Regions from separate parts of the Homo sapiens genome. Here all the other regions are linked to region 3. The links are contacts of gene promoters, found by promoter capture Hi-C in human tissues and cell types (Jung and others, 2019). All regions are on one chromosome and are shown on one strand. Each heading gives the region's core, a stretch centred on a gene start or on the middle of the fragment in contact. The rest is flanking DNA. Distances are from core to core; before and after follow the strand shown.

Evidence for each region. Contacts are between HindIII fragments. The study calls those that stand out against the background at their distance.
Region 1: a contact is called between a fragment that was not itself captured here and the fragment with the promoter of ESRRA in region 3, in 1 of the 25 tissues and cell types used here (hippocampus).
Region 2: a fragment that was not itself captured here is called in contact with the fragment with the promoter of ESRRA in region 3 in 1 of the 25 tissues and cell types used here (dorsolateral prefrontal cortex).

The regions. Positions count from the first base shown.
Region 1 is chr11:64,706,908-64,710,199 of GRCh38, reverse strand. All of the region lies in intron 2 of NRXN2 (neurexin 2), which reads left to right. Among named protein-coding and RNA genes, the nearest start is that of NRXN2, 15 kb to the left of the region's middle. The HindIII fragment of the contact is 7,389 bases long and covers 1-3,292 here.
Region 2 is chr11:64,666,974-64,670,533 of GRCh38, reverse strand. NRXN2 (neurexin 2) reads left to right here. Exons shown (of 23, transcript NM_015080.4): 8 at 1,930-2,091; 9 at 2,846-3,284. Among named protein-coding and RNA genes, the nearest start is that of NRXN2-AS1, 25 kb to the right of the region's middle. The HindIII fragment of the contact is 7,810 bases long and covers 1-3,560 here.
Region 3 is chr11:64,304,080-64,307,534 of GRCh38, reverse strand. ESRRA (estrogen related receptor alpha) reads right to left here and starts at 2,011. Exons shown (of 7, transcript NM_004451.5): 1 at 1,799-2,011; 2 at 31-367. The coding sequence starts at 355. It overlaps CATSPERZ (catsper channel auxiliary subunit zeta), which reads right to left. Exons shown (of 5, transcript NM_001039496.2): 5 at 2,765-2,992. The coding sequence ends at 2,889. It overlaps KCNK4-CATSPERZ (KCNK4-CATSPERZ readthrough (NMD candidate)), which reads right to left. Exons shown (of 11, transcript NR_133662.1): 11 at 2,766-2,992. RefSeq lists an enhancer at 1,315-1,384 and a silencer at 1,795-2,304. The HindIII fragment of the contact is 12,153 bases long and covers 1-3,455 here.

The sequences.
Region 1 (3,292 bases), core at 245-2,744, 400 kb before region 3:
GCAGTGGCTCACGCCTGTAATCCCAGCACTTTGGGAGGCTGAAGCGGGCAGATTACTTGAGGTCGGGAGTTCGAGACCAGCCTGGCCAACATGGTAAAACCCCGTCTCTACTAAAAATACAAAAATCAGCCAGGCATGGTGGCGGGCACTTGTAATCCCCACTGCTTGGGAAGCTGAGGCAGGAGAATTGCTTGAACCTGGGAGGTGTAGGTTGCAGTGAGCTGAGATGGCACCACTGCACTCCAGCCTGGGTGACAAAGTGAGACTCCATCTCAAAAAAAAAAAAAAAAAGGAAGAAGAAAAGGGAAAGTGAGATATAAGGCGGGCGCCAGCTGGTAGGGGCAGGGTTGCTTGTGTATATGTGGAGTGTGTGTGATGTGTGTGTGGTATCTGTTGAGAGAGCAGTGCTTTGTGGTAAAGGGGGAGGGTTGTGTCTTTATTCATTTCTGTATTCCCAGCACCTAATCTGGTACCAGGCACTTAGTGGGTGTTTGATAAAGATTTGTGGAATGAATGGAGAGATATTAATAAGTAATTGAGAGAATAAAGGCTTGAGGCAAAGCTGTATGTACATATGAAAACATGTATGTATATATTTTCAGATATATGTTGTGGGTGGGCATGGGGGTTGTAGGCACTGATTGCATCTGGAGATGACAGGCACAGCAATAACCCTACTGATTCCCTTCTTTTCTCTCCCCACTCTGCAACCTCATTTCTTCTTCTATTTGTTCCTTATTTCCTAGGTAGCTTTTATAATATCTTGTGCTCATTATACTTCGAGTACTTTCTCATCCAGTCAAGGAGGAAAGGCATGGGCTCCCATGGTTGGGTATTGGGGTGAGGAAGGAAGACTTTAAGGGGAGCAGGCCTGGCTCCTGCTCTCTGACACAACTCTAGGGGTCAGAATCCCCAGGCTTCCTTGGAGTTATAATCACTTTATCATCTGTTGTGAATGGTTCCCAACTCTTTCTGAGACTGAGGACTTTTTTTTTTTTTTTTTTTTTTTGAGATGGAGTCTCGCTCTGTGCCTAGGCTGGAGTGCGATGGCACGATCTCAGCTCACTGCAATCTCCACCTCCTGGGCTCAAGCGATTCTCCTGCCTCAGCCTCCTGAGTAGCTGGGATTACAGGCGCCCGCCACTATGTCCAGCTAATTTTTGTATTTTTAGTAGAGACGGGTTTTCACCATGTTGGTCAGGCTGGTCTCGAACTCCCGGCCTCAAGTGATCCGCCCGCATTGGCCTCTCAAAGTGCTGGGATTACAGGTGTGAGCCACTGCGCCTGGCCAACTGAGGACATTTTTAAAAGTCAGTAATTCACAGTACCCCTTCCAGTTATTATTTTTATATCTGTTTAGTGTGAGTATAAATGACTCAAAGCCACTGTGAATTTGGAAAAGCTTTTAGATGACTTTGATATTATATTTGCCATTGTGGTTAATAAAATATACATTAGAAAAATGGTTTTAGCTTTATATGCAAGATGTTTCAATCTGCCTTCAGATGTTTGGTGTGCATACGAATTTGTGTATCCTTTGGAATCCCTCCTGCTCTCCCAGGGTCTGGGCTTACTCATTGACGGAGAACCTCCATGCTAGGAAATTTGCATTTTCTCTCTCTCTCTCAGAGATCTGGCCACACGTAATTGAAGACAGAGCTCAGTGGGAGTGGCTGAGTCTGTCTACCGTTGCTGATTATCTGCCAAAGCTGGGATAGAGTAGACTGGGATCTTGCAGTGGTTTGCATGACAGTGCTTCCTCATGTCACCTGTGTGTGTGGAGAAGGGGCTAAAAAGGGATTAAAGAAGAAGGGATGTGCAGGCATGTGTGTGAGACCTCAGGTGGAGTGATGATGCAGGTGTTCAGGACAGAGTGTCAGGTGTATACTATTTGCTCAGGAGAAAAATAGGAAACTAGTCGTAATGTGTGTGCTTGCAGGGAGGTAGACACACGTGTCTCATGTGTTTTGTGATAGTGATTTAATTCAACAGGTAGTTGCCAAGGCCTCTTTTGTGCTAGGCTGTGTGTTGGGGGCTACAGTGTGGTCAGAGATGAATAAGATGACTCTGTGCTCTGGGAGTTGACTTTTTTTTTTTTTTTGAGACGGAGTTTCGCTCCTGTTGCCCAGGCTGGAGTGCAATGGCACAATCTTGGCTCACCACAACCTCTGCCTTCCGGGTTCAAGCAAAGTGATTCTCCTGCCTCAGCCTCCATAGTAGCTGGGATTATAGGCATGCACCACCACGCCTGGCTAATTTTGTATTTTTAGTAGAGATGGGGTTTCTCCATGTTGGTCAGGCTGGTCTTGAACTCCTGACCTCAGGTGATCCGCCTGCCTTGGCCTCCCAAAGTGTTGGGATTACAGGTGTAAGCCACCACACCCAGTCTGGGAGTTGACTATTAAATTGAGGAAGCAGATAAAAAAGCTGTCCAGTGTGTTGTTAAGAGATTCTGCCTCCAGACTGCCCAGGCAGTGACTTTATACTTAAACTCTCTTTGCCCCCATTTCCTTATCTATAAATGAAGATAATAATGGTACCTACTTTATAGAGTTGTTGTGAAAATTAAATTAGCTAGTTCATGTAAAGTGCTTAGAACAGTGCCTGGTACATAGAAAATGCTCAATACATAGTAGCAAAAAAACAGCACAATAGTGTGTGGCCCAGAGATGCAGTAAAGCAGTGTGGCTTAGTGATTAAACCACAGACTTCTGTGGCTCTGGTCTGGGTTTAAATCTGTCTTCTCTACTCCCTAGGCCCATGACATTAGGTGAGTACCTAACCTTTAGACTCATTTTTCTTTTTTTTTTTTTTTGAGACGGAGTCTCGCTGTCTCCAAGGCTGGAGTACAGTGGCGTGATCTTGCCTCACTGCAAGCTCTGCCTCCCGGGTTCACGCCATTCTCCTGCCTCGTCCTCCTGAGTAGCTGGGACTACAGGCGCCCGCCACCACACCTGGCTAATGTATTTTTAGTAGAGACGGGGTTTCACCATGTTAGCCAGGATGGTCTCGATCTCCTGACCTCGTGATCCACCCACCTCATGATCCGCCCACCTTGGCCTCCCAAAGTGCTGGGATTACAGGTGTGAGCCACCGCACCTGACCCATTTTTCTTTATGTATAAAATGGTGATACATGGCTGGGCACTTGAACCCAGGAGGTGGAGGTCGCAGTGAGCTGAGATCGCGCCACTGCACTCCAACCTGGCTGACACAGCAAGACTCTGTCTCAAAAAAAAAAAAAAAAATGGGGATACACATGCTTATCTCATAGGTTTGTTGTAAGAATTAAA
Region 2 (3,560 bases), core at 662-3,161, 360 kb before region 3:
GGAGGTGGAGGGCTGGATGGAGCTGAATTTGCCCCAGGGAGGCCCATTCAGCCTATTACCCACTCCCTGTCTTATCCCTGACCTTTCATCCCAGTTCCTTCTTCCCTTTCTCCAGCCCTTCTCTGCCAGGTCTAATCTCGTTTGCATGTTTTTGTGACTAATACTTTGACCCTTCCCTCTTCTACCCAGACCCCTACTTCCCAGCCTTAGGGTGGGGTGGAGGGAAGAAGAAATAAACGATAATGACCAGCCCTCCCCTCAAATAAGACTCAAAAGCTTTCAGACTGCCCCTTTCCACAAAGACACCCCCTTACCTTCTGCTCTTGAACCTAGTTACCCCAGCACAAGGTTTGATGGTTCCCAGGAGGTGGAGAGTGGGGCTTAGCTCTACCCTATTCACTGCGAGGCTCCAGCCAAGCACAAGGGGGACTTGGGGTCCTGGGAGGGCAGGAAGCTCCCTTACCCCAGTTCTGCTCATGTCCCTTTGGAGTTCCTCCACCTCACCCACCGAGACCATGGACCCCTGGAGACCAGTCGCTGGAAGATGGCTGGTGGCATGTGCATATAGACTGGTGTGGGTGAGGAGGGCATAGGATGTGACTGGAAGGCCCCAATCTCTAGACTGTTCCCGAAAGAGAAATGGGGTGAGCTGTGGCCTGCAGAAGCACAGTGTTGGGCTAACCCTGAGCCAGCTTCCTGTTGACCCTGCAGAGCTCTGCCTTCTTTCCCAGCTGACCCTTCCAAACCACTGCCTTCCTAGAGTAGGGGCTCGTGGTCTCATAGCCCTTGGCCCTTCTCCCACAACCTTTCTGGGTGTCTTGAACCTTGTGGGCTGCTTGTAGAGTTAGATTTTTTGGAGAAGGTGGGCATTTGCCTGGGGAGACTGGGAGAGTTGGAGAGTTTCCTGTCCTTGTCATGCCCCGCCCCATCTAAGATTACTTCTGCATTCTCCAGGCCACCGCTGAGCCCCCCTGCCTCCTGGAATACCAAGTACTCCCCCATTCCTGCTCATCCTGCTTTCTTACTGAACTTTCAGCCCAGGGGCAAGGTATTCATTAAGTTAGCCCTGTCCCCGTCTGTTCCCTAAGCTGGCCCTGACTCCCTGGAGTAACTCTAGTGGTGTCAGTAGACAAGGCAATTAGACAGGAAGAAGGAAGAGTGGGTTGATGTAGCTAAAGGGCTCCCCTCTCCTTTGGAGGCAAGAGAGTGACCTGAATATAAGGAGACCTGAGGAGTGAAGAGACAGACTCAGGAAAGGGCTAGAAGTGCAAACCTGGAGATTGGGCTGCAGGGGTGGAAATCAACCCCAATAGGCAACCCCAGAAAGTTTCAAGACTTCCCAGGAATATTTGAGTTCCTGCTCCTCACACTGCTATCTTCCATCTCCCTACTGGGTCCAGACTGAAAGACTTTCCAGCACCCAGCAGAGAGGGCTGCAGGTGAGTCTAAGCCACCAAGGTCTGGGGAACACCATTCTCTGGCACACTTTTGAAAGAAGTTCTGGAGTTACGTGTGTGTCCAGAGAGTACCTTCAGGAGAAGAAAAGTGAGGATGCCATTTGCACCCATCCTGTGCCCCAGAATGGGGGATCCGTCCTGGAGCCCCCATTCCTGTTCAGAGTGCCCTCCAGGAACTACTTCTTGGGGGACCTCATGGGGAGCTCTCCAAGTACCCTTCAGGCTCCTGCCTGCTGAGTTGGGGGCCAGAGGGCAGGTCTTAGCCCACCCTGAAACCATCAAATCTTGTGCTGCCTCCTTTTCCTCATTTCCTCTCTTCCCCCACTGTTCCTCCTCCAAGACAAGCAGACATAAAAATGGGGGTCCCCCTCCCCTGCTGCCCTCTGGCCCCTCCTTTGCCTAGCCGTAGCTCTTCCTAGGGATTTGATGTTGGTTGTCTCCTGTCTTTCTCCCTCCCTCCTGGGCTGGACAGGTGACCATCTCGGTGGACGGGATCCTGACCACCACAGGCTACACGCAGGAGGATTACACCATGCTGGGCTCTGATGACTTCTTCTACATTGGGGGCAGCCCCAACACAGCTGACCTGCCGGGCTCGCCCGTCAGCAACAACTTCATGGGCTGCCTCAAGGACGTGAGTAGGGCTAGGGAGGGGCTGCAGGCTGTTCAGGAGCCCTTTGTCTCCTGTCTTCAGCGTGACTTAGTCTGACCTGGCTAGTTGTCTGGGTCATCTGTTCCTTCCAAGTCCATGGTGGGAGACACCCCCTCTTTAAAACCTAAGGCCCACTGACTCCATCAAGAGGCTTCTCCCCTTTGATTTCCTTGAGCCTTGGAAACCCCTATCCTCATAGAGGACCCTCAAAGGCAGCTGTGGTACAGAGGAAAGAATGCTGGGTATGAAGACTAAAGACCTTGCTTGAGTCCCAACTCTTCCACTCATTGGTTCTGTGACTGTGGTCAAGTCACTTGACTGTCTGATGCTGAGTTTCCTCCTCTGTGGATGGGTAGTCAGTGCCTACTTCATAAGGTTGTGAGGGGCACATGAGAGTGTAAGTGAACATACTTCATTGAGTGGAAAACAGCTACCACACGTCAGTGGCCTTGTCATTATTATGAACTGCAATTTAGTGGGCACTGAGAACCCACAGGCAAGCCACCATGCTCCTGCTGGGCCAGAAGACAGGACAGAGGACGGGCAAGGGAGGTGCTTGTTCACAGCCTCTGTGTCTGAAGCTGTAGAACAGAGGCCTAAGCGGGTGGTCTGGTGGAACTGAGCAGGGGCTACAGGGGTGGGTGGCTGGGTCCCCTGGTGCTCGCTGCTGGGTGGGAGTGGCCAGGCCCTAAGCTGCTTTCGGATTCTTTATCCCTGACCCCACCCCTCCCTGCAGGTGGTCTATAAGAACAATGACTTCAAATTGGAACTATCCCGCCTGGCAAAGGAAGGGGACCCCAAGATGAAGCTGCAGGGGGACTTGTCATTCCGCTGTGAGGATGTGGCTGCCCTGGACCCTGTGACCTTTGAGAGTCCCGAGGCCTTTGTGGCGCTGCCCCGCTGGAGCGCTAAGCGCACTGGCTCCATCTCCCTAGACTTCCGCACCACCGAGCCCAATGGGCTGCTGCTCTTCAGCCAGGGCCGGCGGGCTGGGGGTGGAGCTGGCAGCCACAGCTCTGCTCAGCGGGCCGACTACTTTGCCATGGAGCTATTGGACGGCCACCTCTATCTTCTGCTGGACATGGGATCTGGGGGCATCAAGCTGCGGGCATCCAGCCGCAAGGTCAATGATGGCGAGTGGTGTCACGTGGACTTCCAGAGGGATGGGCGAAAAGGTCAGGAGGCCTCTGGACCCTTCCCCTTCCATGGGCCACCCCTTTCCATCTGCCCTGACATCCTCTCCGTCTCTCTTCAGCGGGTCTCTTCTACACCATTTCCTATATTCTTCCCTGCCGCTTCTCCTCCACCCCCCTCACGTCTTCCCAATTGTCCTTTCTGTCATCGGACATTGGCAGAAAGAGCACAGCATTTGGCATCAGTCAGACCTGGATTACACCTCAGCTCCCCTACTTGCTGCATGTGAGACTCTGTTTCCTTATCTGTAGAAGGAA
Region 3 (3,455 bases), core at 762-3,261:
AAAGGACAGGGGAGTGGGCTGGGGGCTCACCCTGGATGGTCCTCTTGAAGAAGGCTTTGCAGGCCTCACAGGATGCCACACCATAGTGGTAGCCGGAGGCCACGTCCCCACAGACCAGGCAGAGGCGCTTGGGCAGGGAGCTGAGCACCAGCTTCCCACCGCCCTGCTCGCCAGGCCCAGCCCCCTCCCCATCCTCCTCTTCCTTGTGGCCTGGGAGGCAGCGAGTGGGAGCTGGACCAGGGGCCAGGGCCACAGGAGGCTCGGTCTCTGTCTCCGAGGAACCCTTTGGACTGTCAGGGCTGGCCGGCTCTGCCTTGATGTAGAGAGGCTCAATGCCCACCACCTGGCTGGACATGGCGCTGGTCACCTGCACGGAGAGACCCATAGGTTCGCAGGAAAGCACTGGTATGGGGGATGGGAGACACCCTGCCACACGGGTTGCCCAACCTCGGGCCTAGGGCCAGGCTTCCAAGCCCAGCAAGTGGGGAAGAAGGGGGGCAGAGTCCAAGGAAGGACTGCCCAGGAACACTGCCCCCTCCTAGCTGTTGCCATGGAAACAGAGTCTTCAGGGCCAGTAACTGACAGCAGGTCTCCCCCTTGGGAACCTGGGGGAGGCTTAGAAAGCCCCTACTCCCACCCAGGCCAGGGAGCAGGGTAACCGTAGCCCCCAGGCAACCTTCAACCCCACCTGGAATCCCTAGCCAGGAGCAGGATACTTCCCAGTTTTCTCCAGATGTTGGGGGGACCTCTGAGACCCTGCCCTCATCTGGGTATTCTGCATTGGAGAGCAGACCCAAGGCCAGTGGACGTGCTCACACCGAGTTCACACACTCCACTCACCGGGGTGCTCAGGAGCCCCACAAGCCCACGCAGGCTCGCTCTCTGCTGAGGGCTTTCACACTTGCACCGGCCTTCCCAAACCCGTGCTCACTCCTGCTCACACTTGTGCTCACACACTTCTCCTGGAGCGCACACCCCATCCACGAACTCAGTCAAGGCTCATGATCACACACACTCTCACTAGGTCTCCCCACATCCACACGCACAGGCACGGACTCATGAAAACACCTCCAGAGCTTTTCACACCTGACACGCGGCTGCCCTCCTGCCCCAGCATGCCGGTCCCAGGCACACGGCGGGCGCCGCTCCACCTCCTCGCGACCAGCCTGCAGGTCCACTCTTATACTCCCGCTGTCGCAGAGGCCGCCACCTCCCGGGGCGCCGCGTCCCGCCCCCAACCTGCGCACACCTTTGGGAAGTTGCCTAAAGTTGCTACGCCTCCCCCTCCCCGCCCGCGGGAGACCTCTACCAGGTTATCAGGAAGTAAGTGGGGAGAGCCAAGGAGGAGGAAGTTCTCCCCTGCCGGTGCGATGACCTTTGACCCAGAGAGGAGGGTGGCCCCAGGCCCCTTCGAGCGCCCCCACGTGGTCTTCAGAGCCCCTTCCCAGACATAGAGCCCTCCCCGTCTTCCACCCCGGCCAGCCCCAGGGACTTCGGCAAATGCGGGATTGAACCCTGCCCCGGAGCGGGCTGGATCGGAGGCCCAACCCTGACCCGAGTCAGGACCCGCAGCCAGAGCCAGATCCTGCCCCAGGCCGGCCCACCAGGACTCGGACGCCGGATCCCGCCTGAACCCTGACCAGTCCGACCCTCGACTGGGTCCCAACCGTGGCCCGGACTGGCCCCAGAGTCGGACCCCGCCTGCAGCCCGCCCCGCCCGCCTCCCTGCCGCGCTCGCACATGGCCCCCGCGCCCCGCCCGCCCACCCCCGCGGCAGCGCTCCCCTCCGCCCCCGGACCTGGGGCTCCGGCAGCGCGGTCGGGCAGGCATGGGGGCCGAGCGGCCCGGAGTGCCGGAGTGAGCCGGGGGCCGCGGGCGGCCCCTCCTCCGCCGCCTCCTCGGGCCGCGCCGCCCCACCGCGCCGCGTCCCCTCACTCGGCGGCGCCGCCGGCTGCTTGTAGGACACAAAAGGACATCGCGGCCGCTTCCTACTCCGCTTCCTCCAGCTGACAGCGGGGGTGGGGCCGGCCGTGCGCATGCAAAGCAGGGGGCGGGGCCCGGGGTCCTATGCTAATCAGACCAGCGGGGCGGGCGGCGCCTGCGCGCCCGGACGAGTCGGGGCGGAGCCGGCAGCGCCAGTGGGCGGGCCTTCGTGCAGGTCCCGCCCCGCAGCCCGCCGAGCCACTGCGGCGCACATGCGTACGCGGCCCCTGGGAGGGGCGGGGCCGGAGACGCGGAGGGCGGGGACAATAGAGCCGAGAGCAAGTGGGGCCAGAAGCGCTCTTTCGTAACGGAGGAGGCGGGGCTTGCTGCGCGCGAGAGGAGTGGGCGAGGCGGTGCAGGCTGCAGTCGCGGAGCCAAGAGACCACTTACAGATGAAAACGCAAGGGCGGGACGAGCGGAGAGGCTGGACCTGCTACCTATGCTTGAGGGGCGGAGCCTAGCGCGCCGTCGCGAGGAGGGAGGTGCTGCCCCGTTCCCCCTACCCCCTTCCCCCAAAGCGACACCAACTGAGCACTCGAACCGTAGACCCAGTAGCCCCACAGAGCTGCGGAACTCGGGGTGGGTGAAGCCGACTTAAAACATGCAATAAGTCCTGGATTGCGAGTCCCGGAAGGTAGGGCCGATAGGGCCCGGACGGAGAAAGCTCAAGGTCACTGCGGTGACCGAATGAAGGTCACTGCGGTGACCGAATGAAGGTCACGGGGAAGGGCGGGGCCACGTGCGTCCGCCTCACGCGGGCTGTCCTGCACTGACTCACGGACCATGCATCGACTCTTTTATTTCTTTAGGACTCAAATTCCACTCGGATGGGGTCAGGCTTGGGTCTGGGGACCGGGCTGGCACGGGGCTGGTTCGGGTCGCTGCTCGAGCCCAAGGTGGCGTTTTTAATTCACGTACAGCCTCTTGCTCCGGCGCTTCTTGAGCCCTTCGATGTATCGCTGCAGCTCCTTAGTCAGGAAGTGGTCCCTGCCGATCCCTAACTGGTAGCCTAGGAGGAGGGCAGAGCTCGGCTCAGGGCAGTGAGCAACCGAAAGGTCTCCCCACCAGGGGGCGCCGCATGTGTGATTCGAGGAACCGCAGATGATTCGAGGTAGCAGTAGCGCAGGGCACTCAGGTCTGTGTTAGCCTGGGGAACTTTGCATCTCTAAGGGTGCTGAGTGTTAAGGTGGAGGATGGATGAGGTCAAGGCTAGGGAAGAGGTTGCAGGCCTGAACTAGGGCGGTGGTAGCGAGCAGTTTGCCCACCTTCTGGACCAGCCACCCACTCTAAGCCATCAGCTGGCCCTTTATCACCGCTGGGCTTTCCTACCACAGCAGCAAAAGTTCACCCACATAATCCACTGTCCAAAGGCTCCTCACAACTCCCCAACCAGAGGCAGTCGAGGCCACACCAAGGCGGTCATCCCACTGTGCAGGTGGAGAAACAGCCACAGAAAAGCCTCCCTCAGCTGG